6 separate regions of the Homo sapiens genome follow, and regions 1, 2, 3, 5 and 6 are each linked to region 4. The links are contacts of gene promoters, found by promoter capture Hi-C in blood cells and fetal thymus (Javierre and others, 2016). All regions are on one chromosome and are shown on one strand. The core of a region is centred on a gene start or on the middle of the fragment in contact, and the rest is flanking DNA. Distances in the headings are between cores, read along the strand shown. Region 1 overlaps TMPO (thymopoietin). Region 2 overlaps SLC25A3 (solute carrier family 25 member 3). Region 3 overlaps APAF1 (apoptotic peptidase activating factor 1). Region 4 holds the start of CDK17 (cyclin dependent kinase 17). Region 5 overlaps LINC02453 (long intergenic non-protein coding RNA 2453). Region 6 holds the start of LOC124902994 (a long non-coding RNA gene).

Evidence for each region. Contacts are between HindIII fragments. The CHiCAGO score rates a contact against its expected background, and 5 or more counts as called.
Region 1: a contact is called between a fragment that was not itself captured here and the fragment with the promoter of CDK17 in region 4, in 1 of 17 cell types (fetal thymus). The highest score is 6.0, in fetal thymus.
Region 2: a fragment that was not itself captured here is called in contact with the fragment with the promoter of CDK17 in region 4 in 1 of 17 cell types (M1 macrophages); the score reaches 5.1 in M1 macrophages.
Region 3: a contact is called between a fragment that was not itself captured here and the fragment with the promoter of CDK17 in region 4, in 1 of 17 cell types (M2 macrophages). The highest score is 5.9, in M2 macrophages.
Region 5: a contact is called between a fragment that was not itself captured here and the fragment with the promoter of CDK17 in region 4, in 1 of 17 cell types (M0 macrophages). The highest score is 7.5, in M0 macrophages.
Region 6: a contact is called between a fragment that was not itself captured here and the fragment with the promoter of CDK17 in region 4, in 1 of 17 cell types (M0 macrophages). The highest score is 7.4, in M0 macrophages.

The regions. Positions count from the first base shown.
Region 1 is chr12:98,531,482-98,536,369 of GRCh38, forward strand. It overlaps TMPO (thymopoietin), which reads left to right. Exons shown (of 9, transcript NM_001032283.3): 3 at 199-357. Among named protein-coding and RNA genes, the nearest start is that of TMPO-AS1, 18 kb to the left of the region's middle. The HindIII fragment of the contact is 1,786 bases long and covers 1,188-2,973 here.
Region 2 is chr12:98,599,627-98,604,416 of GRCh38, forward strand. SLC25A3 (solute carrier family 25 member 3) reads left to right here. Exons shown (of 8, transcript NM_002635.4): 6 at 329-501; 7 at 1,545-1,655; 8 at 1,742-4,790. The coding sequence ends at 1,902. SNORA53 (small nucleolar RNA, H/ACA box 53) reads left to right here and starts at 9; the gene lies at 9-258. The HindIII fragment of the contact is 1,663 bases long and covers 1,883-3,545 here.
Region 3 is chr12:98,654,151-98,659,181 of GRCh38, forward strand. It overlaps APAF1 (apoptotic peptidase activating factor 1), which reads left to right. Exons shown (of 27, transcript NM_181861.2): 5 at 5,010-5,031. Among named protein-coding and RNA genes, the nearest start is that of APAF1, 11 kb to the left of the region's middle. The HindIII fragment of the contact is 5,891 bases long and covers 1-4,207 here.
Region 4 is chr12:96,398,100-96,402,878 of GRCh38, forward strand. It overlaps CDK17 (cyclin dependent kinase 17), which reads right to left and starts at 2,340. Exons shown (of 17, transcript NM_002595.5): 1 at 1,887-2,340. RefSeq lists silencers at 1,744-1,903, 2,084-2,263, 2,354-2,683 and an enhancer at 3,104-3,323. The HindIII fragment of the contact is 3,343 bases long and covers 385-3,727 here.
Region 5 is chr12:98,489,453-98,494,103 of GRCh38, forward strand. It overlaps LINC02453 (long intergenic non-protein coding RNA 2453), which reads right to left. Exons shown (of 4, transcript NR_038383.1): 3 at 3,979-4,032. Among named protein-coding and RNA genes, the nearest start is that of TRD-GTC1-1, 12 kb to the right of the region's middle. RefSeq lists a silencer at 1,079-1,373. The HindIII fragment of the contact is 2,331 bases long and covers 1,091-3,421 here.
Region 6 is chr12:98,472,600-98,477,561 of GRCh38, forward strand. It overlaps LOC124902994 (a long non-coding RNA gene), which reads right to left and starts at 4,396. Exons shown (of 2, transcript XR_007063420.1): 1 at 4,276-4,396; 2 at 1,951-2,200. The HindIII fragment of the contact is 1,295 bases long and covers 1,092-2,386 here.

The DNA.
Region 1 (4,888 bases), core at 831-3,330, 2.1 Mb after region 4:
GCCTCAGCCTCCCAAAGTGGTGGGTTTACAGTCGTGAGCCACTATGTCTGGCCGCATTATATGGTATTTTTTTTTTTAAGAACTTGAGTTTAGAAAAATAAAGGGTGAAAATAGCTTAAAATGTTGCTGAAGATAGTGTCTGAGCTGCATCCTAAATGAAACAATACAGGTACTAAAGCAAGTTCTGCCTTAATCCAGGAACAACCAGGAAGCTATATGAGAAAAAGCTTTTGAAACTGAGGGAACAAGGAACAGAATCAAGATCTTCTACTCCTCTGCCAACAATTTCTTCTTCAGCAGAAAATACAAGGCAGAATGGAAGTAATGATTCTGACAGATACAGTGACAATGAAGAAGGTAAAATTTTAAATGATGTTAATCAAATGTATGGAATTTTTTCACACTCAAAATTCAGTGACCATGAAGAAAGTAAAATTTAAAACAATATTGGCAAGATACACAAATTTTATTCGTGTCATTAGAGTAATTCTGTAATTTGATTTAAATACTTTTTATTGAAAATTCTAAGAAGCAACATAGTACAAATTCATAATTTTCCATCACCTGAAATTGCAAGTTAACTTTGTCTTTTTTGCTACAAATCTCATTTTTCTGAGAGAATAAAGTATTACAAGTAAAGGCAAAGTTTCTCGTACTTACCTGTACCTATCACCTCCACAGAAGTAACTACTATTATTAATTCAATGCCTGTCTTTCAAGTTTTATATTTCACATACACATCTGTCTAATACATGGTATTATTTTATACTTTAAGAATAAAAAATTTATATAAACAGTATGCTAAATCTTATCACTTGCTTTTTCTTACTCCATTATTTTTGAAATCTAATCCTGTTAATTACATATCTGTTTATTCTTCATAATTAATACATAGTGGTAGCATTTAAATATGGCATATTTTCTCTGTTCTCTATTGATAGGCATTTAAATTGTTCGCAGTTTTTGTTAATCTGACCTCAGGGCAACTTTAAAGCAAATATTTTGACTATATTTTTAGTAGACTGTATAGTATCTTAAAATTTGATCATGATGTTTAAATATTTTTTAAGGATAGTATGTGAAATAAATGTCCTTTAAAAATTATAAATACAACTTGATTTTTGTAAACTTTTAATTAATATGACTTGTGATTATTTATTTTGATCCAGATTGTTTATATCTCAATAAGCTTTGTCTACCAGGGCAAATCTGGCAGATTAGTTCAGAATATGAAATTATAGTCTTTTCCTTTGACAGCACTATTTTTAGCAAAGAGGCAAAGAATAAAATCAGCTCAAACACAGGTAATGCTTAAACTTCCTGCCTCTTTTGCCTCTACAGGAAAGAAGAAAGAACACAAGAAAGTGAAGTCCACTAGGGATATTGTTCCTTTTTCTGAACTTGGAACTACTCCCTCTGGTGGTGGATTTTTTCAGGGTATTTCTTTTCCTGAAATCTCCACCCGTCCTCCTTTGGGCAGTACCGAACTACAGGCAGCTAAGAAAGTACATACTTCTAAGGGAGACCTACCTAGGGAGCCTCTTGTTGCCACAAACTTGCCTGGCAGGGGACAGTTGCAGAAGTTAGCCTCTGAAAGGAATTTGTTTATTTCATGCAAGTCTAGCCATGATAGGTGTTTAGAGAAAAGTTCTTCGTCATCTTCTCAGCCTGAACACAGTGCCATGTTGGTCTCTACTGCAGCTTCTCCTTCACTGATTAAAGAAACCACCACTGGTTACTATAAAGACATAGTAGAAAATATTTGCGGTAGAGAGAAAAGTGGAATTCAACCATTATGTCCTGAGAGGTCCCATATTTCAGATCAATCGCCTCTCTCCAGTAAAAGGAAAGCACTAGAAGAGTCTGAGAGCTCACAACTAATTTCTCCGCCACTTGCCCAGGCAATCAGAGATTATGTCAATTCTCTGTTGGTCCAGGGTGGGGTAGGTAGTTTGCCTGGAACTTCTAACTCTATGCCCCCACTGGATGTAGAAAACATACAGAAGAGAATTGATCAGTCTAAGTTTCAAGAAACTGAATTCCTGTCTCCTCCAAGAAAAGTCCCTAGACTGAGTGAGAAGTCAGTGGAGGAAAGGGATTCAGGTTCCTTTGTGGCATTTCAGAACATACCTGGATCCGAACTGATGTCTTCTTTTGCCAAAACTGTTGTCTCTCATTCACTCACTACCTTAGGTCTAGAAGTGGCTAAGCAATCACAGCATGATAAAATAGATGCCTCAGAACTATCTTTTCCCTTCCATGAATCTATTTTAAAAGTAATTGAAGAAGAATGGCAGCAAGTTGACAGGCAGCTGCCTTCACTGGCATGCAAATATCCAGTTTCTTCCAGGGAGGCAACACAGATATTATCAGTTCCAAAAGTAGATGATGAAATCCTAGGGTTTATTTCTGAAGCCACTCCACTAGGAGGTATTCAAGCAGCCTCCACTGAGTCTTGCAATCAGCAGTTGGACTTAGCACTCTGTAGAGCATATGAAGCTGCAGCATCAGCATTGCAGATTGCAACTCACACTGCCTTTGTAGCTAAGGCTATGCAGGCAGACATTAGTCAAGCTGCACAGATTCTTAGCTCAGATCCTAGTCGTACCCACCAAGCGCTTGGGATTCTGAGCAAAACATATGATGCAGCCTCATATATTTGTGAAGCTGCATTTGATGAAGTGAAGATGGCTGCCCATACCATGGGAAATGCCACTGTAGGTCGTCGATACCTCTGGCTGAAGGATTGCAAAATTAATTTAGCTTCTAAGAATAAGCTGGCTTCCACTCCCTTTAAAGGTGGAACATTATTTGGAGGAGAAGTATGCAAAGTAATTAAAAAGCGTGGAAATAAACACTAGTAAAATTAAGGACAAAAAGACATCTATCTTATCTTTCAGGTACTTTATGCCAACATTTTCTTTTCTGTTAAGGTTGTTTTAGTTTCCAGATAGGGCTAATTACAAAATGTTAAGCTTCTACCCATCAAATTACAGTATAAAAGTAATTGCCTGTGTAGAACTACTTGTCTTTTCTAAAGATTTGCGTAGATAGGAAGCCTGGTACAAACAATTTAACGCTTTCTAGATCACATATTAGTCTCTAAGTTGTTTTCTGTTTCCTGCTTTACTTATGTTTTTACAATTCTCCAAAACTAAGAAAATTCTAATTAGGATATAAGGAGTATTTACTGTTCAATAGAATAATATGCATCCTCCTTTATACCTAGGACAGAATTAAACATTTGTTACACATTCAGAACAGTGATGTTGTTCTTTTTGATACTTTTATCTCAGTATCTTTTCACGTTCCATAACTTGTCCATATTTTTGCTCATATTTTCTTACTTTTCTTTGTTATTTATTCATGTCTGCAACATCAATCATAGTAGTCTAGATCAATGCAACTCAAAGCACCAGTCTACAAACTGTTACTTATCCACAGGCAAGATAAGCATGCACAAGAATTTAAATCTAGAGATACTTTTTAGGTCAATGACAGGATTTGATTTTTTAGCAAAATTTTATTAATAGCTAAAGCAATGTATTGATTTACACTCTGATGCAAGTAATTTATCTCTTCATTGACTGGTAGCAACCAATTCATGGACCAGTACCATGGACCACACTTTGAGAAACACTTCTTTGGATAATAATAGATATCCTGGGATAGTGCATGTTCACCATCTATTTTGTCAGATAATGGGGCCTTTTAAAAAATAATACTTTGCTTTCATGATATATTGTATTTTGTGGAAAGTTAAGTTTAGCAATATAGACTCTAAAAGCAAATTAAATTTTTTTAAGCCATAAGAAATTATACTATATCCCAGTATCTGTATGTCTGTATAAAGCAGTGTATTATCATGTTTTCATTTCTGTGATTGTAAGTTAAGAGTCTTAACTGCAGAGGTATTGTGGAAAGTAGTAGCCTTAAGCATAATAAAATATGGTCTCTTGGGTACTCCCTCTGGCCATTACCACATTCTTAGATTATATGTGTCCATCTTTGCAGCTTTCTGAGAGTAATTTTATTTGTTGTCTTCTGAAATGTACATGTATACATGTACCTACTGAGTGCTATGTGATTTTTAAAAATGTATTACTGTAGAATGCTTCTGCAAATTCAATAAAGTTGTTAAATTTGAACAGTGTTGTGTGGTCTCCAGAAACATGTTGTTCTGTGTGCTTTATTCTTGGAGTTGCAACAAGTTAAATATTTGTATATGAACACCCCTTTTCCATTTCATCATTGAAACTCACTTTGACATTTCAGTGGTATAATTGAAAATATTCTGATTATGGTATGGTTTTTCTTCTGTTTGAGGACCATGTTTTTATTGACTGTTGGAATCTAAATTTATAAGAGGAATTAATCTGTAACCAGATACCTTATTCGTTTAACCGATTTCTATTCCACTACTAATGGTTTTTTTTACTTTGTGCTTTCTAGTTCTTAGATTCTGAGTTAACAAAGCATAAAATAGATTTTATATTGCTGGGGGTTGTACCAAACATAGATACATTGACAGATCCATTGATAGAAGTGTTGGGAGATGGACTTGAAATCTTAGTCCTAAATAAAGACTGAACTGTTTAAACTAACTTGATAAAAATCACTGTTCGTTTTTGGGAACCTGCAAGTATTAAATAGATTCTGTACTAACTAGTATTAACACTGGAAAGTTAGCAAGACACATATAGATGTCTTGACCACTTTTTCACACAAGTTCAGAGTTCATGTAAAACTTTAGAATTGACTTCCTTTCTGTCTCTTCAGTAAGAAAGTAATCTAACTTAAATTTTTGGTAGTAGAAGTTTTAGAAATAACAACTGACTAATTTTGCTATACCATGATAAATGTCTACAAAAAGGGATTTTTTTTTTTT
Region 2 (4,790 bases), core at 1,464-3,963, 2.2 Mb after region 4:
ATGACCACAACATGCTTCCTTAGATCCACCTTTGTGGATGAATCTTGAACTGAGTTCCACTTGTAAACTTCTTGTTTCTTGTGGTTCCAGTAGTCAAAGAAACATCCAGCAACTTTTTTGGTTGTATAGTCAAAGGTGCTTGAGTCATTGGCATGTAAGAGAAATATACCTGCATGTTAGTCTAACGTTCTGATAGAAATGACATGCATTTATGCTGCCATTTGTTACTATCAGGACTCGACTCGTGTGCGGACATTTCTGTTAATAATGACAGTCTCTGATAGATGAGTGTATGCAACTGTGTAAAACAAGTCTCTTGATTTCCTAGATTCTACAAGGGGGTTGCTCCTCTCTGGATGAGACAGATACCATACACCATGATGAAGTTCGCCTGCTTTGAACGTACTGTTGAAGCACTGTACAAGTTTGTGGTTCCTAAGCCCCGCAGTGAATGTTCAAAGCCAGAGCAGCTGGTTGTAACATTTGTAGCAGGTTACATAGGTACGAATTACTTAGAACACACTTGTCTGAAATTATGAACAAATAATCATTTCCATTATTGGCGTTTTTTGAGAGGGAAAAATACTCCAAAGGTTATAAAGCAGTGTTTTTGTTTTTTTGGTTTCCCTGAGGCATAGTCTCGCTCTGTTGCCCAGGCTGGAGTGCAGTGGCATGATAATAGCTCACTGCAACCTCCTCCTCCTGGGTTCAAGTGATTCTTCTGCCGCAGCCTCCCAAGTAGCTGGGACGGGCATGCACCGCCATGCCCGGCTGATTTTTGTTTTTGTTTTTTGTTTTTTTTTGAGATGGAGTTTTACCCTTGTTGCCCAGGCTGGAGTGCAGTGGTGCAATCTTGGCTCACTGCAGCCTCCGCCTCCTGGGTTCAAGCGATTCTCCTGTCTCAGCCTCCTGAGTAGCTGGGATTGCAGGCGTCTGCCACTACGCCCGGCTAATTTTTAGTATTTTTAGTAGAGACGGTTTCACTATGTTGGCCAGGCTGGTCTCAAACTCCTGGCCCCAGGTGATCTGCCTGCCTTGGCCTCCCAAAGTGCTGGGATTACAGGCGTGAGCCACCGCGCCTGGCCTGATTTTTGTAAAGATGGGGTTTCACCATGTTGATGAGTCTGGTCTCAAACTCCTGACCTCAGGTGATGTGCCTGGCCTATAAAGCAGTTTTATCTTCCCATAACATTTTATATGCTTTTTAGGATTCATAAATACTTGCTAACTAGTTCCTAAAAGGGCTGTTTCATGGGATGTCATTATTAGGCTTGGGAATGTATTGATCTTACTGTTGCACCATTTTTTTGTTGTTGTTTATTAAGAATTTTATACAGAAAGTGTTGAATAAAATCTGAAAAACTTTAAAAGATTGTTCCGTTTTACATAGGATAGACAGCTTGATAACTGTACCCGTGTCACCCTGAGTCTGATTTTTATTTTAGAACTAGAAAAATATTATTTTAAAATCATAAAAATGATTATTGGCTCTGTGAAGTTTTGTTTTTAACTGGCACTGTATGGGATCCTTTATCTTTTTTCAGCTGGAGTCTTTTGTGCAATTGTTTCTCACCCTGCTGATTCTGTGGTATCTGTGTTGAATAAAGAAAAAGGTAGCAGTGCTTCTCTGGTCCTCAAGAGACTTGGATTTAAAGGTAGGATGATGTTTTTTTCTTGAAAGAAAGAACAACAGTTTTGGATATGTTGCATTTTTTTCATTTGCTTTTCCTGTTTGAACCAGGTGTATGGAAGGGACTGTTTGCCCGTATCATCATGATTGGTACCCTGACTGCACTACAGTGGTTTATCTATGACTCCGTGAAGGTCTACTTCAGACTTCCTCGCCCTCCTCCACCCGAGATGCCAGAGTCTCTGAAGAAGAAGCTTGGGTTAACTCAGTAGTTAGATCAAAGCAAATGTGGACTGAATCTGCTTGTTGATCAGTGTTGAAGAAAGTGCAAAAGGAACTTTTATATATTTGACAGTGTAGGAAATTGTCTATTCCTGATATAATTACTGTAGTACTCTTGCTTAAGGCAAGAGTTTCAGATTTACTGTTGAAATAAACCCAACTCTTCATGATTTGCCTGTGACTTATTTTTAAAACTTTTTTAAAAAAGATTTAGCTTTAAAATAGTTGGAAAGAATGAAGTATATAAGTTAAGGAAAAAATACAAAACTGACCATGACCATTGTTGGTTGAATATTCCAGTTGCTATTCAGAAATTGTCATATGTCTCAAGTTTTATCACACAAAGTTCCTGTATTTCTAGGGAAGCAGACTTTAAATTTCTAAAAACTTGATTTAATTATAGTTAAATATGTGTAGTCATTTGTGGTTATTTTGGCAAGTAAATGTCAGTGTATACTTACATTTTTGCAGCATGTACTACACCTTTTTTATGTTGGTGAGTTTGCTAATCCTTATTTGTAAGACAAGGTAAACCAAATTAGGCTGATTCTTAGAATGACAGTAAAGGACCAAAGTGATTGACAGCTGAAAACAATTTTCAGGTACACTAATTCTCTTTACACAGATCTGACTTTTTTTTTTTTTGAGACGGAGTTTCACTCTTGTTGCCCAGACGAGTGTAGTGTCGCGATCTCGCCTCACGGCAACCTCTGCCTCCCAGGTTCAAGCGATTGTTCTGCCTCAGCCTCCCAAGTAGCTGGGATTTCAGGCATGTGCCACCACGCCCAGCTAATTTTGTATTTTTAGTAGAGACGGGGTTTCCCTGTGTTGGTCAGGCTGGTCTCGAACTTCCAACCTCAGGTGATCCGCCCGCCTCAGCCTCCCAAACTGCTGGGATTATAGGCATGAGCCACCGTGCCCGGCTCTGACTTTTTACAGAAAATTGAACTATTTTCAGTCTGGTATTTTAAGAAAGGTACTGCTTGACAGCTGAACTATATGAATGCCACTGGGGAAAAAGCATTCCATCATACTTAGATACGAGATTGGATTGTAGGTTTAAGCCCATTTTTAAAGAGCTCCTAGAAAGTGAATTAGTTTTTGTGTTTAGATTCCCCTTAAGTTTGATTAGGAAGTGTATAAAAGTTCAATCTTTTGTAATGACAGCCCACCACTGGAAAAAAAACGAAAAACCTAGTGTAATATATAACATGCTGTTTTTCAAACACTAGATTTTACCTAGAGTCCTTATGTGTAATACGTGGGTTGGTTAACAGTCCCTACGTAAAGCGTACAGATGGCCTGGAGAGAAAAACTTTTTCAGAGATTGGAGAGAAATGTTACTACAAACTCATGGTAAGGTCAGTGAACTCAATTTAGAAGCCAGTGCAGCTAGTTGCATGTTAACTTCTTTATATCATCATTGCCTGAACTTGTTAAAGGTTCCAACATTTTACCTGTGCTGCAGGAAAAAAGGAAAAGTTGTAGGTACAAATTTGGACCAAACTTTAAAAAGGTAAAGTAGGATGTCTTCTGAACCCAACCAAGTGGTGGCTGTGGTGCTTAGCAGTATCAACTGTATATTATTTCTTGCTATGTTAGCAAAGCATCCAAAGATCAATGGTGTATGATAAGCTTTTCTGTGGGTGAAGAACTCGGGAGTATCAGACTCTTCTGGTTCTGAGTCTCATGAAGCTTTTCACTTCTGAGCTGAAAGGATGCTCTTTGTGCTTTTCACTATTAGTGGTATAGTCTTTCCCGAAAATCTCTAGCATGGTGGCTTCAGGGCAGCTGGACTTAGGTGGTATTTTGGGGCTCCAGGAGAGCTTGGCAGAGTTGGCTTTTTAGGACTTATCCTTCAATGTCACATAACATCACTTTTACCATGCTCTTGGTTACAACAGTGATGTCTCAGAAACCAAGTCCCAGATTGAGGAAAAAAGGAACATAGTCTCTACCTCTTCCTGAGAGGAAAGTCAGTCAACGTGTAAGAGGAGCAGTAGAAACGCATTAGTCCAGCCAACGTGAAAGTGGACCGTAGATCTAAAACATTTTGGGTATGCAGTTCAGCCAGCCCTTACTGAGGCAGTTCTGCCAATCAGGATTCAAGTTTTATTTCCTAAGAGTTATAATAGGTTTTATTTGTGGGCATTGATACAAAATACGCTGTGTTCAAGCTATGGAGCCTGCCACTGTAGTTACTAGAGTTACGGTTCAAAGCTATTTCTGAGAGAAAGCCACTTCATCCTCAAAACCCAAGAGGCCCACTTAAAGTGATGCGAATTCTCATTTCAGGTTTTTAAATTATACTAAAAGATTCTAGTAAGAAAATTTTAATATGTATGTATTGGTGTTCTTTTTACATTTCATTTAATGAAATGTCTACTGTCAATACGATAAAGCAGAACCCAGTGGAGTAAGAATACACGAAACTGCCAGGCACAGTGGGTCATGCCTGTAAACCCAGCATTCTGGGAGGCCGAGGCGGGTGGATCACCTGAGGTCGGGAGTTCAAGACCAGCCTGACCAACATGGAGAAACCCTGTCTCTACTAAAAATACAAAATTAGCTGCGGTGGTGGTGCGTGCCTGTAATCCCAGCTACTCAGGAGGCTGAGGCAGGAGAATCGCTTGAACCCGGGAGGCGGAGGTTGTGGTGAGCCAAGATTGCGCCATTGCACTCCAGCCTGGGCAACAACAGCGAAACTCTGTCTCAAAAAAAAAAAATATATATATATATATATATATATGAAGCTGATAGTTGAATTATGTTGATTCAGGGACAAGATAGCATTGCATAGTAACTTCCAGTAGGATCAAATATTTTGAGAGTGGTTAAAACGCCAAGGAATCCTGATTTTATGAAATTATGCCTTCTG
Region 3 (5,031 bases), core at 12-2,511, 2.3 Mb after region 4:
TTCAGTTTTTAACTAAATGTTATATTGTGATGGTTAGAGATTTACATATCAGATGGTCATTTGGTCTGTTTGCCTTTTTAAAGCTGGTAGTGTTTTCTCTTTTCTTGCATGTATTTAAATGCCCTAAATTTTTAGTTATACATTTAGGGAAAAAGGCCTTTGACCCTAGGTAATAGGTACATAAATTAAAATATGAAAGAATTTACTAGGTAGCCATATCAGGATGCTTTCTTTACCTTTAATCTTGGGATGATTTTTACAAATTTTATTTTATTTTATTTTATTTTGAGACAGAGCCCCATTCTGATGCCCAGGCTGGGGTGCAATGATCTCAGCTCACTGCAACCTCTGCCTCTTGACAGTCCCCCTGCCTCAGCCTCCCAAGTAGCTGGGACTACAGGTGTGTGCCACCACACCCGGCTAATTTTTGTATTTTTAGTAGAGATGGGGTTTCACCATGTTGGCCAGGTTGGTTTCGAACACCTGACCCAAGTGATCCCCTCGCCTCGGCCTCCCAAAGTTCTGGGATTACAGGTGTGAGCTGCTGTGCCTGGCCGATTTTTACAAATTTTAGGTAGTACAAATTTAAAAAAATGGAAACTTAAGGCAACAGATAGTTTATTTGTCTGTTTTTGTTTGTTTAAATATTTTTAAAGTAGTATTTTCTTTTTTTTTTTTTTTTTTTAATTTATTTTTTTATTGATAATTCTTGGGTGTTTCTCACAGAGGGGGATTTGGCAGGGTCATGGGACAATAGTGGAGGGAAGGTCAGCAGATAAACAAGTGAACAAAGGTCTCTGGTTTTCCTAGGCAGAGGACCCTGCGGCCTTCCGCAGTGTTTGTGTCCCTGATTACTTGAGATCAGGGATTGGTGATGACTCTTAACGAGCATGCTGCCTTCAAGCATCTGTTTAACAAAGCACATCTTGCACCGCCCTTAATCCATTTAACCCTGAGTGGACACAGCACATGTTTCAGAGAGCACAGGGTTGGGGGTAAGGTCACAGATCAACAGGATCCCAAGGCAGAAGAATTTTTCTTAGTGCAGAACAAAATGAAAAGTCTCCCATGTCTACTTCTTTCTACACAGACACGGCAACCATCCGATTTCTCAATCTTTTCCCCACCTTTCCCGCCTTTCTATTCCATAAAGCCGCCATTGTCATCCTGGCCCGTTCTCAATGAGCTGTTGGGCACACCTCCCAGACGGGGTGGTGGCCGGGCAGAGGGGCTCCTCACTTCCCAGTAGGGGCGGCCGGGCAGAGGCGCCCCTCACCTCCCGGACGGGGCGGCCGGCCGGGCAGGGGGCTGACCCCCCCACCTCCCTCCCGGACGGGGCGGCTGGCCGGGCAGAGGGGCTCCTCACTTCCCAGTAGGGGCGGCCGTAGTATTTTCATTTAAAAAGAAAAAGAAATAAAAGTTCTCCTTACTTGTTCCTTTTTGCTTTCTCCTAAATTCTTAATCTTTTTATTTTTATTTTTGAGACAGAGTCTCACTTTGTCACCTAGGCTGGAGTGCAGTGGCATGATCCTGGCTCACTGCAGCCTCAACTTTCCAGGCTCAGGTCATCCTCCCACCTCAGCCTCCTGAGTAGCTGGGCCACAGGCGCACAGCACGTTGCCTGGCCAAAATTTTTCTTTTTTTTTTTTTTGAGACAGAGTCTCACTCTGTCGCCCAGGTTGGAGTGCAGTGGCGCGGTCTCGGCTCACTGCAAGCTCGGCCTCCCGGGTTCACACCATTCTCCTGCCCCAGCCTCCCGAGTAGCTGGGATTACAGGCACCTGCCACCACACCCAGCTAATTTTTTGTATTTTTAGTAGAAACGGGGTTTCACCGTGTTAGCCAGGATGGTTTCGATCTCCTGACCTTGTGATCCGCCCACCTCGGCCTCCCAAAGTGCTGGGATTACAGGCATGAGCCACCGCGCCCGGCCTTGCCTGGCTAATTTTTTGTATTTTTTTAGGGACGTGGTTTCACCATGTTGCTCAGGCTGGTCTCGAAATTCTGGGCTCAAGCAGTCTGTCTACCTTGGCCTCCCAAAGTGCTGGGAGCCACCGTGCCAGGCTCTAAATTCTAAATCTTATCCTAGAGATAATCTTGGTTAACAATTCGGAGTAAATTTTTCCAAACTTTATTCTCTGCAATTATAAATATATACACATACAGAACACAGCTTTAAGTTTAAGTGAAGTCTCAAGGACTTGCTGTTTCATAACTGCAAACTTACACTGAAGGAGGCCTGAGGGGACCTCAGGAAACTTTAGGAGTAAGCAGTAGGGCTTGTCTACCTTCTTCTAAGACATTGGCACTGATAATCAAACCAGGCTTCACAGCCCTGTCTCTACCTCAGTTACTGTAGAGTTCTCTGTCTCCAGTTGTTTGTTATATTTTAGACTTTCATGCAGTCACTATTCAGTACATTGCCAAATTCTGATCTAAGTCTTCTTCTGTCATTCCTATGTGTTTCTGCCATACCCTGTAGAACTCCTCTGTGAGCAGGAAACTCTCTTGTATCATCAACTTCTTAGAATATTCGCCGTCTTGCCTTATCTGAAACTGGGCAGTTTCCTGAGTTTACTACCTTCTCCATAACCTTCTTAAGTGACATGGCAACTTTTTTCCTTTATATCCTACATACTTTAGCACCAGGAAATGGGTGGGCGTTGTTCTTGCTCTCTGTTGTCTCATCCAGACCATTAATACTCCCTTCTCCAGCTGAATGCTTTGAGGTTCATGTCTCTAACCTTTCCTATTGATGTAATCACCGTCTCATTCATTGACGATTGGAGTTCGTAGATTATAACCTTCCTCTTATGCTCTTTGTCTGTTAGCACTCTTAGTGATTTTGATACCTGTGTGGATGAGTCATCCAAAACCTTAACCTCTTACCTCCTTAACCTCTTTGTCTCCTGTGAACATTTCTTAACTCTTCCCTGATTACAGGCTAGACCCTGATCTTTGTCATTACTAGAACTACAGCACTTTTGAAATCTTGATGTTGAGCATTCTCTTCTACTCTTTACCCACCTCCACCCATTTTATTCAAGTTTAATGCTATAGACTTACCAAGACTTCTCATCCATTGATTCCAGAATATCCTCTCTATTCATACTATCAGTCCTCTCCTAGACTTCAGCCATCATTGTCCATCATTTTATTGTCCATCATTCAGTTGCTTCTTAGCACATACTCTTGACTCTTTAGTCCTCTCCTTATCTGGAGTGAAAACCGATTTTTTTCTCTATGCTGGGAAGTGGAATAGGTATTTGCTCCTCAAGGCTTCATCCAGACCATTGCTTACGTCCTCTTTTCTGGGACTGATCCTTTCCTTGACCTTGTGCAGGTTCAAAGACTCCATGTCACTTCAAGTTATAAAAAGTCTAATTTTCATAATTAATATGTCAAGTCCTATTCAGTACTCCAAACTTCATTTACATATAAGGTTCAGTTGGGCCTGCCTGAAACTTTGGAAGCCTGCAATGGGATAGTAGGTTAAGGTGGGTTGTTTCCAGCTTTTTCCTGTTGCAAACAATGCTGCAGTGAATATTCTTGTGGATGCAGAATAGTGTAGAAGTTGAACATTGATACTTTAAGTTTGAATCTCAACTCTGCTTCATTAGCTGTGTAACTTTGGGCAAATTACTCAACTTTTCTATTCTTCAGTTTCCTCATTTTCAAAATGAAGATAATAGTGTCTGCTTGATAGTGTGCTATAGGATTAAATGAATGAACATACAGAGAACTCTTAGAATAGTGCCCAATAAATATCTGATGTAAATAGATCTTTGTGCATATATACAAGTATCTCTTTTGGGTGATTAGGTTTTTAAAGTAGTGATTTATATTTGTATTTAATTATTTGTGAATACCAGTAAATAAATTGCCCTTTGGTGTAATTTAATTCATTTATCTTTGAGTCTGTTTTTTGCTTTTTTTGGTATGTTTAAGATCACATAAATCTTTATGATTGATGCTACTGGAATGATCTAATGCTACTGTTTACCATATTTTACACATAGGGACCCCTCTTTTTTATATATGTATATTTATGTGGAGGTGATTAAGTATAGTCTATGAAGACTTAAGATTTTGGCTACTGACAATATGTAAATAAAAATACATATTTCAAGATGTTTTATGGCTCAATTAACAATGATGATGATAACAGTAATAATAATCATGGCCATTCCTAGTGTTTACTAGTTTGAAGCTTAATATTGGTAAGTTGCTCTCAGATCCATAACACTAATAACCTGTTTTAATCCTTTATACTTAACATAGCAATTTCACATATTTTATATCATTAATTTTTCACAGCAACTCTGAAATAGGTGGGCTAGACAGCCTTATTTCAGTATAATCAATGAGACTGAGGTTAAATGATTTGATAAAGATTGCTTAGCTAGTAAGCAGTAGAGCCAGACTTGAGTCTAACTTCCTATTTTAAGTCTGTATAAGAAAACCATAATGGGTGAGTTATATGTTCCAGGACATCAGTAGTTCTCAACGAGGGGTGATTTCACACCCCCCCAGGTGACATTTGACAATGTTTGGAGACATTTTTGTTTGTCAGTACTGGTGAAGGGGAATCCTATTGGCATCTAGTGGATAGAGACCAAAAAGGCTGTTAAACATCCTATAATGCATAGGACAGTCCCTTACAACAAAGAATTGCCATCCCAAAAAGTCAGAAGTACAAGGTTTAGAAACTGTGCTGTGCAGTGATCACTGACAACACAGGACAAAGATCATAAAACTTTACTTGGTAAGATTTTCCCGATAAGCCACAGATTTACTTCAAACTTCAGTTTCTTCACATCTTCAACTTGTCTTAGATTCAGGATATAAAGCCTACCAGTATCTTGCACGTAAAATTTCTACTCTAAATCAAGAGAAGTTGAAGATGTGATGGGATTGTAAATTGGAGTAAATCTGATGCTTAACAGTAAAACCATTTAAAGGAGTACTCCTGTTGAAAGGCCTTAAGTTCATTATTCTTTCCCTCACTAGGTTGTTTCCCAGGGGGAGTGCA
Region 4 (4,779 bases), core at 1,090-3,589:
ATAGTAATTTTACATAAGCTTAAATTCAAAGACTCCCGTTTTTTTTTAAGCCAACCATTCAAACTGTTAGTGCTTCTGGCCTATGAGATGGTTTACCAGATAAAGTAACATTCTTTATATTCCAATATTCTCTCTCATAACATAAAAAAGAATTTAAGGAATATCCCTTAGTCACATTTTCTTTTGTTCCAACCCACTGTTTATGGAAGCATGCAGATGTTAAGAGTTGCAAAAATTGAAATGACTTCATTAACAAAGCAACATCCCAACGTTTAATGTCAACTCCTCAGACTCATAAAAAAATGAAACAAAACCAATTATATTACCACTAGCAAATTTTTTCCCCTTAAAATCTAGTTTCGTCTTATTTCTAGTTTCAAGGCAAGCTTTGTCTACCCAAGGTATCAAAGGTCTTCAAATCTCATTCATTTTCTTCTGCCCAAGAGTTAAGAAAGTAAGTCTAAAACAGAACAAGCCAGATTTGTTGCTGTGATCTTCTCACACGAACGCCTTTTAAAAGAAATCTTTCAACAAAGACTCAAAAAAGAAACAGCAAAGTTTGGGGAAAGAATTGTCTGTCTTTAGGTCAAGCATTTCCTGATAAGTGACTGAAGGTCTGGCTGCCAGGAATACACTTTGCTGACCCTAGGAATGGCCAAGTCTCAAAACAAAATTTGCCTCTTCTGTATCTTGAAAGTGACCTGTTAGGACCTGATGTCAATTTGACGAAGAGGTGATAGAACATGACCAACGAGGTGTCTTTGGTGGACATATTCATGTAAAGGAGGCGAGAGCCACAGATTTCAGCTAAACGCTTTTTGCCACTTTTGCAAAAGAAAAGCTAATTGTTAACGGCCATGTGACATTATAGATCCCAGAAAAGGAAAGGGTGGGAGGAAGAGAGAGAAGTTCAAGGCAGTTCAGGGTCAGAACAAGCTCAGACATCCTGTCATTAACAAATGTTCCCCAAGCTGAAAGCAAAATACTGCTTACCCGAAAAGGAGTGGGTGAAAAGTAGGGGGAGAACGAGGGAAAAACCACAGGAGAGTCAATGTGGCAGTGTGGGGGTGACAGGAGGGAGGGAATCTGGAGCTATCCAGCTGAGTTGGGGAGCAAAAGCATCGGGCATAGCATCGGGCACAAAAATGCTGAGAAAAGCAACTGCGACGGAGACAGCACTAGGCACCCTCCTCCCCCCATTTTCCCCTCCCCATCGGTTTGCTGGGTTTCCCACCTTCCCTCTACCTCCGCTCTTGACCAACACTCCGGGGTGTGACCCGCCAGCAGGAGGCTGCCCTGATCTTTGTCTCTACCCGCTCCCACGCGCGGGCTCCTCCTCCTCCTCCGCGCTCCCCACCCGCGCACAGCGCCAGCGTCTCCAAGGAGCTGCAGGCGCCGCGACCGCCGCCTCCTCGCCCACCTCCCGCGGACCCGCGCCCCTTCCTTCCCCTCCCGGGCAGCGTCGCCTGCGCCTCCAGCTCCACCCCCGCCGAGGGGACCTTTGTGTCTCGGGGGACTTTCTGCCTCTTTCCCCTCCTCCGCCTCGCGAGGAGACCGGCCTCCCCCGCAGACCAAAGCGGCAGCGAGCACCGGAGGCGGCGGCGTCTATATCTGTCGGCGCCTCCTGGGAAGCAGCTCGCAGACACTCACACCCCACCCGAGCCCCGGAAATCCCCGGGCGACCCAAGGTCCTCGCTGGACCGGAGAGGTGACAGGCGCACGCTAGCCCCCCGCGCCGCGCCTCCTCGCTCAACTTCCCGACCGGGCCTGAGCCACCCGCGCCCCCAGTAGCCCCCGCCCCCGCCTCTGTCCCACGCAGCCTCCCGGCCCCGCGGCCGACCCGACACCAGGGGAAAGCGCGGCGCGGACGCCAGCCGCCAACTCACCAGCAAGAGCGGGGACCGCGGGTCCCGAGGCGAGGCGAAGAGAGGCGCGGGGGGAAGCTGCTCCGCGGACGCCCGCGGCGACCGGATGCAAGTCCGGGTCTCAGCGGCCGGCAGACGTGAGGCGCTTCCGAGCGCAGGCCTCCGCCGCCACAGCCGCCTTCCGGCTCTCGCCGCGGGTCCGGAGCCTCGGGAGGGGCCGCGGGTGTCTCACGCGTTGCCAAGTCCCTCGGTCAACATGGCTCCCGCGCCGACGAGCCGCGCGGACGGCCCACTAATCCCCTCGGAGCAGCCGGGCGCGAGCGCGGCGGGCGCCGACGGCGGGCTGAGACTGTCTGGCCGGGCGCTGGCTCCTTCTCCGCGGCTCTGCGGCGGCCCGCGGGGAGCTCAGGAGACTGCGGGCGGCCGCGTTCGCTCCTTGCGTGTGCGTCGCTTTCACACTCGGCGGCTGCGGATTGACGCCTCCGCCTGTTCCCCGGAGGAGAGCGAGTGCAAGAGAAAAAACACTTTTATTGAAACGATCCAACCAGCGGCGGCGGAGAAAAGCGACCGGCCGCGGGAGCTTACCCCACCCCCGCCTGAGCGGCTCGCCGGGGGCAGCGCGACCCCTGCCGGCGGCGGCGGAGGCGGGGGCGGGGCCGGCGGCCGGGGGCGGGGCCTGCAGGGCGGGGCGGGTGTCCCCGGGAAACTGCCCGCTCCGAAATGCGGGCGTCGGGGGAGCGGCGGAGGGGGCCAGGGGACCCCACCGGAATGAGTGCCTGTCCGCAGCGACTGGGGGAGAAATTATGTGAATAATTCAGCCCCTCCAACATCCCCCTGCCCCTCAACTTCCCGCTACCAAACCAAAACTCGTGCTTCAGTTATACAAGTAATTACTGTACAAGGTGTCCATGCCACAGTTCTCCACTGACTTTCTAGAGAGTCCATGTCAAAGGACCCACACTGAAAGATGTTGATGGCTGCAACTTTTCTCCTTTGTTGTGTGTGGGTACGTGGGTACTAGTGCCGCAGTCTCTCACACACACGGCATCTATTCATTTAAACTACAGTACAGTGTTTTGTATATATTATCATGTGCCCGGCAATATGCTGAGTCCTCTAAGGACGGAGAGTCTAGCTGGGATGAAAGATGATCAATAACTATCATAAAAATCTGAACGTTATGAGCGGAGAAATACAAGGTGCTATGAAAACAGAAAGGACTACTGTTGCACGGGTTAGGTTTTGTTTTCTTGGGGGAGGCGGGCCGCGAGAGGTTGGCCCAGTTTCTGCAACTGTTTTTACTTTCTCCTTTCCCAGAGGCTAAAAGCTAGTTCAGGAATGAACAGCAGAGTGGCAGTGAAGACAAACTAAAGTAATACTGACCCACTTTTTTCCACTAATAAGGATAAAAGCATAAAGTTAAAACAAACTTAAACCCCTAGAGGGAGATAATGAGAGGATTGAAAGAAGAGAGTAGGGACCGGATGTAGACAACATAAACAAGAAAAAAAAACCCACATAAAAGTCCTGTGAAGTGAGATAAATTTTTTTTCCCATGTTAACACCCGGAAGTAGAAGCTGCTTTGAAGTTTCAAATCACATTATGTGCTAAGAACTTCGGGGAATTATCTTTTTGGATTTAGGGATGAATCCTTTCCCCCTTAAAAATGCTGCATGCTGACATCTTTCTCTTATTTTGTTTGGCAAAGTTAAATGCATCTACAGTTATATCCAACGATCGTACGTGTCAATCAGGCTTTTCCCATGCCTCTAAAATTACCAGGACCCGTAAATTAGCAACAATTATGCTCTACGCGTATTTAACACTTGTTTACCAACCAAGAATGCAAATATACATAACAAGCTTTCCGTTAGAACAAGTGCGCTTTGTTTAAAAGCACTGTTAATGAGGCTTTTTAGATTTGTCCAAGTCAAACTTGGAACTTTATAATATAGCAAGATGTAGCATCATTTTCAGAGTTCTTTTTAAGTTAAAGAGAAACACTGATATTTATACAAGGCCTATTTATATGAAAGGATTTTCATATACTTGCCTCATCTAAATTAGTACTTTAGTAAATATCAAAAAATCACCAAAAAAGGGAGTCTATGAAATGGCATTCTGAGTTTCAGCATTAATACTTATACCTTCATATCATTAGATTAACATTACTCCATGAGAAATAAAAAGATTATTCTGTCTCATCCAAAGCACCCTCTCCTCTTTCTACATCTTTCATTAGCATAACAAAGAATTCGTAATTGGGAGGCTGAGGTGGGAGGATCCATTAAGCCTGGGAGGCGGAGTTTGCGGTGAGCTGAGATTCTGCCACTGCACGCCAACCTGGGTGACAGAGTGAGACACCGTCTCAAAAAGAAAAAAAAAAGACGAATTCATAATGAAAACTTAGGTGATTATTTGATTGATTGGTTTGTTATTTCTTTTTTTTTTTTAAGACAGAATTTTGCTCTTGTTGCCCAGGCTGGAGTGCAGTTGCGTGGTCTCAGCTGACTACAACATCCGCCTCCCAGGTTCAAGCGATTCTCCTGCCTCAGCCTCCCAAGTAGCTGGGATTACAGGCATCCGCCACCACGCCCGGCTAATTTTTTGCATTTTTAGTACAGACAGGGTTTCACCCTGTTGGCCAGGCTGGTCTCAAACTCCTGACCTCAGATGATTCACCCTCCTCGGCCTCCCAAAATGCTGGGATTACAGGCGTGAGCCACCGTGCCTGGAGGATTTGTTCTTTCAATGAAAAAAAAAATTACAGATTGCACAATATTTATTTCATTACTTTTCATATTTATTTATTTATTTATTTATTTAAATGAGATGGAGTCTCACTATGCCGACAGCCCAGGCTGGTATTAACTCCTGACATCAAGCAATCCTCCAACCTCGGCCTCCCAAAGT
Region 5 (4,651 bases), core at 1,006-3,505, 2.1 Mb after region 4:
GGGTCTCACTCCATCACCCAGGCTGGAGTGCAGTGGTGCAATCTCAGCTAACTGCAGCCTCAACCTCCCAGGCTCAAGCCATCCTCGCACCTCTCAGCCTCTGGAGTAGCTGGGATTACAGATGCGCGCCACTACGTCCTGGTAATTTTTGTATTTTTAGTAGAGACAGGGTTTCACCGTGTTGCCCAGACTTATCTCGAACTCCTGGGCTCAAGCAACCCACCTGCCTCGGCTTCCCAAAGTGCTGGGATTACAGGAGTGGGCCACAGCACCAGGTCAGATTGTAAAACTTTTAATTTTTATTTATTTTTTTTATTTTATTTTATTTTATTTTATTTTTTGAGACGAAGTTTCGCTCTTGTTGCCCAGGCTGGAGTGCAATGGTGTGATCTCGGCTCACTGCAACCTCCACCTCCCAGGTTCAAGTAATTCTCCTGCCTCAGCCTCCCAAGTAGCTAGGATTACAGGCGCCCACACCCCCACCCCATGCCTGGCTAATTTTTGTATTAGCCAGAGATGGGGTTTCACCATGTTGGCCTGGCTGGTCTCGAACTCCTGACCTTCAGGTGATTCACCTGCCTTGGCCTCCCAAAGTGCTGGGATTATAGGCGTGAGTCACCATGCCCAGCCAAAAATTTTATTTTTTACCTTTTTAAGGTGCAAGACTCTCAGTAAATTCTCTCCTGGTTAAGGAAAAATATCTGGAAAGGGAAGGGGATTCTCTACTGAAAGTAGATTTTCCCCACAAGAGACACCTTTGCAGGGCCATTTCAAAATGTGTCAAAAATATATATATATTTTTTGGGGTAAACTACTTCAATTTACTTCAGGGCCTGCTGTCTGTCATGTTGGTATCTTACTGCTACAAAAAGCCTTCTTTGTCAGACTTATGTTAATGCTGGTCAGATGTGCCTGAATCCCAAAGGGACTCTGTCCCAAAGGGAGGAGAGTATAATGAGGCTTGTCTGACCACCTGTTCCCATCATGACATGAACTAGCGTTTCAGGTAACTTTGGAATGCCCCTGGACAAGGAGGCATCCATTCAACTGATTGGGGAGCTTAGAATTTTATTTTTGGTCTACATGGTAAAGCTTAAAGTTGCGGAAATCATTATCCTCAGTCAAGCTAAAGCCTAGGTATCCAGACCTCTCTTTCACCTAATTTATTTGCAATTAATCCAAAGTTCTAGGCCAGGCACAGTGACTCACACCTGTAAACCCAGTCCTTTGGGAGGCGGAAGCATGGAGGATCACCCGAGGCCAGGAATTCAAGGCTGCAGTGAGCTAAGATTGCACCACTGCTCTCCCGCCTGGGTGACAGAGCAAGACCCTGTCTCTAAAAGAAATTTTTAAAACAAATAACAAAGTACTGGTTTATGCTGTATTTATAAAACAACATATGTAGTAAGATTTTCTTAGTTTTAGAACCCAGAAAGCTGTGCCAAATGCTTTGAGAGTTGACTTATTTCCTATTAGGTTTTTTAAATACTTGCAGTCCAGATACTGCTTTTAATTTTTTAAAAAACAGTATCCATACTTACAGGCTCTGATTAAGTTTCAAAGACTAAGCCTGCCATGCTTGTCGGTGTGTGATTCCTTCCTCTAAGATTCCAGACATTCCCGTCTCCAGGCATCACTGTGTCGGGGGAGCGCTGTGTGAAAATGGCTGTGATCTTTGTGCGGTTTGTCCGGTTATACCTCACTGGGACACCAGAGGGCGCAAGGAGGGCCAGCACTTGTTTTTCTTTAAATCTCGAATCAAAGTCCATGCAGAGAACAACAAAAGACCCGGAACACAGGGGCCTTGAGACAAAGGGACTCAGGGGAAAAGGCTGCACGCCCTGTTTTACTGAAGTGGAATTTGCTTCTTCACCCTCCTCACCTCCTCACCTCCTCCCCACCTTAAGGAACTAGAAATAAACAACTTAAGCTGCAAAATAATGAAATCTGGCTAACAAGGAAAACCAAACTAGAATACATTACTCAACATGTCATAGGCTAAGAGGACTATCACAAATGTACATTTGAGCTATTTGCTTTGCCTAATATTAATAACTTTAAAGAAAATTTTATTGTTTGCTTTTCTGAGTTCAATATATGCACATAGTAGAAAATTTAGAAAAGGTGGAATAGCAAAAAGAACAGCGATCATCAACACACTCTTAACCCAGATATAACTACTTTTAATATCTTCAGCTACTTCTTTCCAGATGTTTTCTTCTTTCTTTCTTCCTTTTTTTTTTTTTTTTTTTTGAGACGGAGTCTCACTCTGTCCCCATGCTGGAGTATAATGGCGCGATCTAGGCTCACTGCAACCTCCGCCTCCCAGATTCAAGTGATTCTCCTGCCTCAGCCTCCCGAGTAGCTAGGATTATAGGCACCCACCACCACGCCCAGCTAATTTTTGTATTTTTAGTAGAGACGGGGTTTCACTCTGTTGGCCAGCCTGGTCTCGAACTCCTGACCTCAAGTGGTCCTCCCGCCTCAGCCTCCCAAAGTGCTGGGATTACAGGCATGAGCCACCGCACCCAGCCACCAGACGTTTCCAGTACTTACAAATGCATAGAAAAAAAATGGGATTCTGCGTGCTATTTTGTGCTGGTTCTCTTCTTATTTTCTAGATCACTAACTTCATTTTATTGATAAATTCTGATAATAAAACTTTGCTAATCATATGAGTTAATCACAGGTAGGAGAATAAGAAATTTCAAAAGCTACAGGCAGCTTTTTTCCCAAAATAGCAGCAACTTGAATGCCAGACCTGAGTCATGCATTTGAAGCAGAAGTTTTTCTGTTGCTTTGTGTTTAGAAAACACGGAAAGACTAAAGAAAAGGCCTGTCGCAGTGGCTCACACCTGTAATCCCAGCACTTTGGAAGTCCAAGGCGGATCACAAGGTCAGGAATTTGAGACCAGCCTGGTCAACATGGTGAAACCCTATCCCTATTAAAAATACAAAAATTAGCCAGGCATGGTGGCCCGCACCTGTAGTCCCAGCTAATCGGGCAGCTGAGGCATGAAAATTGCTTGAACTTGGGAGGCGCAGGTTGCAGTGAGCCAAGGTCACACCACTGCACTCCAGCCTGGGTGACAGAGTGAGACGGGTCTCAAAAAAAAAAAAAAAATCCAAAGAAAAGAAGTAGAAACTGTTCCATCCCACCCCAAACAGGCTGAATAATTTGTCCTTCTGGGTAGCCTGAGGACTGAATGCCAAAGGGCCAGGGGGTGTGGGTCACCAGGACCCTTTGTTCCTCACACTGGGGCTAGTGTTTGCCTCAAAGCTAGACAGATCAGTAAAGCTATTAACCGGGATAGGTCAGCAGGTGGTCAGTAGGGCAGGAAAAAAGTCAGGAAAACGGAGGTCACTGATCTCCTGTTGGGTTGGGGCCAATGTTGGCAGGCAGGTTCCTTAAAGGACAGGAAGCTTAGGCCAGCCCAGGAACAGATAACTCTAAGGAAAGTGATGGCAAGATCTGAGGCCCTGAAAACCTCTGAGGGACACCTAATCACTAAGCCCACAGATTCCTTAATTTACAGCAACAGATAAAGGTGATGTTCTCGGCCACAGGAATTTAGTTAAATCACTGGAGCTGTCTGGCCTCAGTTTCCTTATCTGTATAACGAAAGGATCAAGAAGATAGGTAAGGTTCCTGTCAGTTCCTCAAAGATTGTGATGTTTAATTCTCCCCAGTCATGCATTATAATGAAAGGTGAAGACATTTCCTGCCCCCTGCCACTCCAGTCCCCTAAGCAGCAGCCCCTCCACCATATACTCTTTCCCGCATTGCCACTTTTCCCAAATTGCCACATGCTCTGAGCCTTTGTATTAATGTTTCTCTGTTCCCTAAGTGCTGGAAAACATTTCCCCCATTCTTTTTCTAAGTTCATCATCATTCTTTGGTGGCCCAGCTAAAAATAGGTCTTTCTTTGACCACTCCAGCCCTTCCCTCTCTGTAATCCCGTAGTATTCTGCACATACCTCCATCACTTTCTACCTCTGTAGCCTTCATCTTCCAGTGCCTCAGTTTCCTCACTGTAAAAAGGAGAAAATTATTATAGCAAACTCATAGGATTTAAATAAGGATTAAATGGTATTAAATAAAATGTATAGTAAGTCATTGGTTTGAACTGAGTTCCTACACTAGGCCCAACAGACAAACCAAAATAGAGTCACTCATGCTGGAGTTCCACACCACTAAGCTGAAAATAAGTTGTTTATCTGACCTTCCAAGAAATCAGGAGGGGGCGGAGCATGGTGGCTCACACCTGTAATCTCAGCACTTTGGGACGCCAAGGCAGGTGCTGAGCTTGAGATCAGGAGTTCAAGACCAACCTGGGCAACATGGAGAGCCCCCACCCCCCAACACCACCACCATCCCTCTACAAAAAATACAAAATATTAGTGGCATAGTGACGCGTGCCTCTGATCCCAGCTACTCCAGAGGCTGAGGTGAGAAGACCGGTTCAGGCAGGGATTGCAATGAGCTGTGATCACCCCAGCCTGGGTGACAGGGCAAGACCCTGTCTCAAAAAAAGGAGAGAAAAAAAAGAGAGAAAGAAATCAGCAGCGAGATATAATAGTCAAATCCCCAAGCAGGTCAGTTTTCGCTGGAATGATAAGAAGGTCCACTCTGCTTTAACCTTTAAACGGA
Region 6 (4,962 bases), core at 489-2,988, 2.1 Mb after region 4:
CTTAAGCCCATGAGTTCAAGACCAGCCTGGGCAACACGACAAAGCCCTGTCTCTACCAAAAATGTAAAAAAAAAATGAGCCTGGCATGGTGGTACGCACTAGTGGTCCCAGCTACTCAGGAGACTGAAGTGAGAGGATAGCTTGAGCCTCAAAGGTGAGATTATGGTGAGCCAAGATGGCACCACTGCATTCCTCAGCCTGGGTGACAGAGCGAGACCTGTGTCAAAAAAAAAAAAGAAAGCAAAAAGAAATGCTAGGTCAAATAGTGTTCCCCAATAATTCATGTCTACCTGGAACCTCAGAATGTGACCACATTTGGAAAGAGGGTCTTTGCTGATATAATTAAATTAAGATGAGGTCTTGGTGGGGCGCAGTGGCTCACACCTGTAATCCCAGCACTTTGGGATGCCAGGGTGGGCGGATCACCAGAGGTCAGGAGTTTGAGACCAGCCTGGCCAACATGGTGAAACCCCCATCTCTACTAAAATTACAAAAATTAGCCAGGCGTTGCAGCATATGCCTGTAATCCCAGCTACTTGGGAGGCTGAGGCAGGAGAATCACTTGAACCCAGGAGGCGGAGGTTGCAGTGAGCCGAGATCATGCCACTGCACGCCAGCCTGAGTGACAGAGACTCCATCTCAAAAAAAAAAAAAAAAAGATGAGATCCTATTAGATTAGGATGAGTCCTCATCTAATGACTGGTGTCCTTATAAGAGAAAACAGAGACCCAGAAGAGACACACAGGAAGAACACCCTGTGATGATGGAGGCAGAGATTGGAGGGATGTGGCTACAAGCCAAGGAACACCAACAATTGCCAGCAACCACCAGAAACTAGGAAGAGGCAAGGAAGGGTACTCCCGTAGGGCCTTCAGAGGGAGCACAGCCATATTGACACTCTGATTTCAGATAGCCTCCAGAACAATGTGAACAGAAACAAAAACATTTGTGTTGTTTTCAAGGCACCAGTTTGTGGTAATTTGTTACGGTAGCCCTAAGAAATGAATATACTTTCCATTTTGTTATTTTCTTTCTGCTCATCTGAATTTCCTAATTTTTCTACATTGAACATGGATTATTCGGATAACAAAAGCTTAAAAATTCCAAGCTCTTCCTTGATTCTGCATCCCCTTGCTCCTTCCCTGGATGGTCCAGCTTCCCTCGCAGGCTGAGTGTAGTCAATGTCTTACTTGCTCTCCTCCCAAACAGGCCTCTGCTCGGTGCAGTCTGGCTTCTACCCCCACGACCCCAAGAACCTGCTCCACCAAACATTGCCACTGGCCTCCATACTACTAAATCTCCCAATGTGTAACCCTTCTTACTGACCATCTCTACCACGTTTGTCAAATTCTCTTGCCTCCTTAAAAAGCTCTCCTCCTAATGATGCACACCATGGAGTATTCACAGCAATTAAAAACTGTGAGTTGGGGCTAGGCGCGGTGGCTCACACCTGTAATCCCAGCATTTTGGGAGGCCGAGGTGGGTGGATTTCTTGAGCCAGGACTTCAAGACCAGCCTGAGCAACATGGTGAAACACATCTCTACAGAAAAATTAAAAAATTAGCCAGGCATGGTGGTAAGTGCCTATAATCCCAGCTACCCGAGAGGCTGAGGTAGGAGAATCGCTTGAGCCAGGGAAGTGGAGGCTTCAGGTGGATACTCCAGCCTGGGCAACAGATTGAGACCCTGTCTCAAAAAAAAAAAAAAAAACAAAAAAAAAAGGAAAGAAAAAAAATAGAAGGAAAGAAAAAGAAACCTCAATGAAATTTTCCAACAGGGACCTACACTATAAATACAGACACTAGGCAATTGTCTTATTCCACTTTAGGTTCCCAATAAGGCTACACACTTAAGAACTGCAGGAATATTTAAAATAATTGAATTATTTCAATCTCAAACCATTTCATTTTATAGTATCAAAGCCATAGAACTCTATGTAAAATCAGTAGATTTATTCAGAACACTTTATTATTTCAACAAGAAAAACTGAAAGATTGTGTTTTTACATTTCCAGGAATTTGAAGTGGGAAAAATCTTAAACTTTAAGGACATTGTTTTAATATGATTTCTTGCAATTGATATTTATAATAATAAATTTTTTTCACCTTCCTCATTATTAAAACTTTAGAAACAATGAACATAAACCTTTAGAAATCAAAATGTTATTAAGGTTTTGTTTACACGAGCAGGTCTTGAGTTTCTAGAAAAAAAAAACAGAAAACAAAAAAAAAACCTGAATGAACAAATCAACAGGTCTATTCAAGAAAAACACATCACCTTTTTTTCTATCTAAAAAGTTCATTCCTAGATTATCTCCGTGGCTTAAATCCTGATATTATACAGATTTCAGCAGCTTGTAAGTTTCCTCTGATCCTCCCTTTATATAAGCTTTCCTATGATTTCCCATCAAGTTTTTCAATTTGTTTTAAAACCACAGACACACACACACACACACACACACACACACACACACACACACACACACACACACACACACACAATTGCACATCCTCCTCTCCCAGGGCTCTCCTAATAATCTGATTTTCTGATTTATTTTTCTTGTTCTTTTTTTTTTTTTTTTTTTTGAGCCAGAGTCTGGCTCTGTCACCCAGGCTGAAGTGCAGTGGTGCACTCTTGGCTGACTGCAGCCTCTGCCTCCCAGGCTCAAGTGATCCTCACACGTCAGCCTCCCAAGTCGCTGGGACTCCAGGCACATGCCACCAAGCCCAGCTAATATTTGTAGTTTTTGTAGAGACGGGGTTTAACCACATTGCCCAGGCTGAAATCTGATTTATTTTCAAGGAGATTGGCACCTCTCAGGGAATCTTCATTTTCTCTCTGTGCTTCATTGTCCAGGAATGCCAAGCATTCTCTCTCGTAGATTACACTAGACAGGCCTGTCTTCCTGGCAGCAACAGCACGCTCCAGGCTGAAGCAACTGCAGAAACTGCGAAGAAAAACAGCACCCCCATCTCCCCTCCCTCAGGGACTATATGAGACTTAACTAAATTTGTAATCTGACTAGGATCCAAATTTTTACCCTAGAGCAAACCAACAGCTCCAGGCCAAGAGCCTAAGATTCTTCTGTCCTAGGAATGACCCACTAAGTGAGTTAAAACCTACCAATCTAAGCTAACCTAAACTAGGAGCTGGCCCTAAACAGCATTTACTCTTCCTCCAATGACTTCATCTCTTCTGATAAAATTAATCAGAGGTTCAACTGAGTTATAACTCTACTCTTTTAAATATGCTTCTTAAATTTCCCATTGGCAATAATACACTAATGATTAATTGAATGCTATTGTATTATAGCAATTAGATTTATATCCTGGGATTATTTGATATTAAAAAATATTGATCAATCCTGATTATGTGGATTGAAAAATTAATCCTATAAGTAAACAGCATATAAATAGTATATAACATAATATATACATATATATAAATAATATATGTCCTTATAGTATAAAAGTTAGAAATACAGACAAAAAGAAATGGGGGACAGTCCCATATTTTCTTATAATCCAGAATGTACATTTGTAGCATTCCTAGGCATATGTAGCAAGCTGATATATAAAATGTTAACTAGGCCACGTACAGTGGCTTACGCCTGTAATCCCAGCACTTTGGGAGGCTGAGGCAGGCAGATCACCTGAGGTCAGGAGTTTGAGACCGGACTGGCCAACATGGCGAAACCTCGTCTCTACTAAAAATACAAAAATTAGCCAGGCATGGTGGTTTGTGCCTGTAATTCCAGCTACTCAGGAGATTGAGGCAGGAGAGTCGCTTGAACCTGGGAGGCAGAGGTTGCAGTGAGCCAAGATTACACCATTGCACTCCAGCCTGGGTGACAACAGCGAAATTCCATCTCAAAAAAAAAAAAAAATTAACTGCTTTGGTTTCTAAGACTATGGTTGCCTTACCCCTCACCAGCTCCCCCCACTTCCCCACCCCAGAGAAGAAACTATTCTAAAGTGTTAGGACTTTCAGTGACTAAGAAACCACTTAAGTCAATTGTGATTATCTGGAAGCAACTAAGTGTCATTTTCTGTATCAGAATGAATGGGCAGGAGATGGACTCTGGACGTAGAAATATGGGGAAAGAAATCACAAATTGAGGCCGGGTGCAGTGGCTCACACCTGTAATCCCAGCACTTTGGGAGGCCAAGGCGGGTGGATCACTTGAAGTCAAGAGTTCGACACCAATCTGGCCAACACGATGAAACCCTGTCTCTACTAAAAATACAAAAATTAGCCAAGCGTGGTGGTGCGCACCTGTAATCCCAGCTACTCAGGAGGCTGATGCAGGAGAATTGCTTGAACCAGGAGGCAGAGGTTGCAGTGAGCCGAGATCATGCCATTGCACTCCAGCCTGGGTGACAGAGCGAGACTTTGTCTCAAAAAAAAAAGAAAGAAAGAGAAAGAGAGAAAGGAAAGAAAGGAAAATAAATCACAAATTGAGTTTTAGAAAATAATTAAGTTACATTTCTAGCACACTGATATGGTTTGGCTCTGTGTTCCCACCCAAATCTCATGTCAAATTGTAATCCCCACATGTCAGGGGAGGGACCTGGTGGGAGGTGATTGGATCATGGGATTGGTTTCCCCCGTGCTGTTCTCATGATAGTGAGTGAGTTCTCACGAGATCTGATGGTTTTAAAAGTGTTTGGCAGTTTCCCACTTGCTCTCTCTCTCTCCTGCTGCTATGTAAGACGTGCCTTACTTCCCCTTTGCCTTCCACCATGAATGTAAGTTTCCTGAGGCCTCCCTAGCCATGCAGAACTGTGAGTCAACTAAACCTCTTTCCTTTTTAAATTACCCAGGCTCAGGTAGTTCTTTATAGCAGTGTGAAAATGGACTAACACACCCATTTTTTGTCCTTGACACATCATACCCACTACCCACGTGCACACACACAAGCATGCACACACATACACATATGACTTTGCATATTTGTAAGCA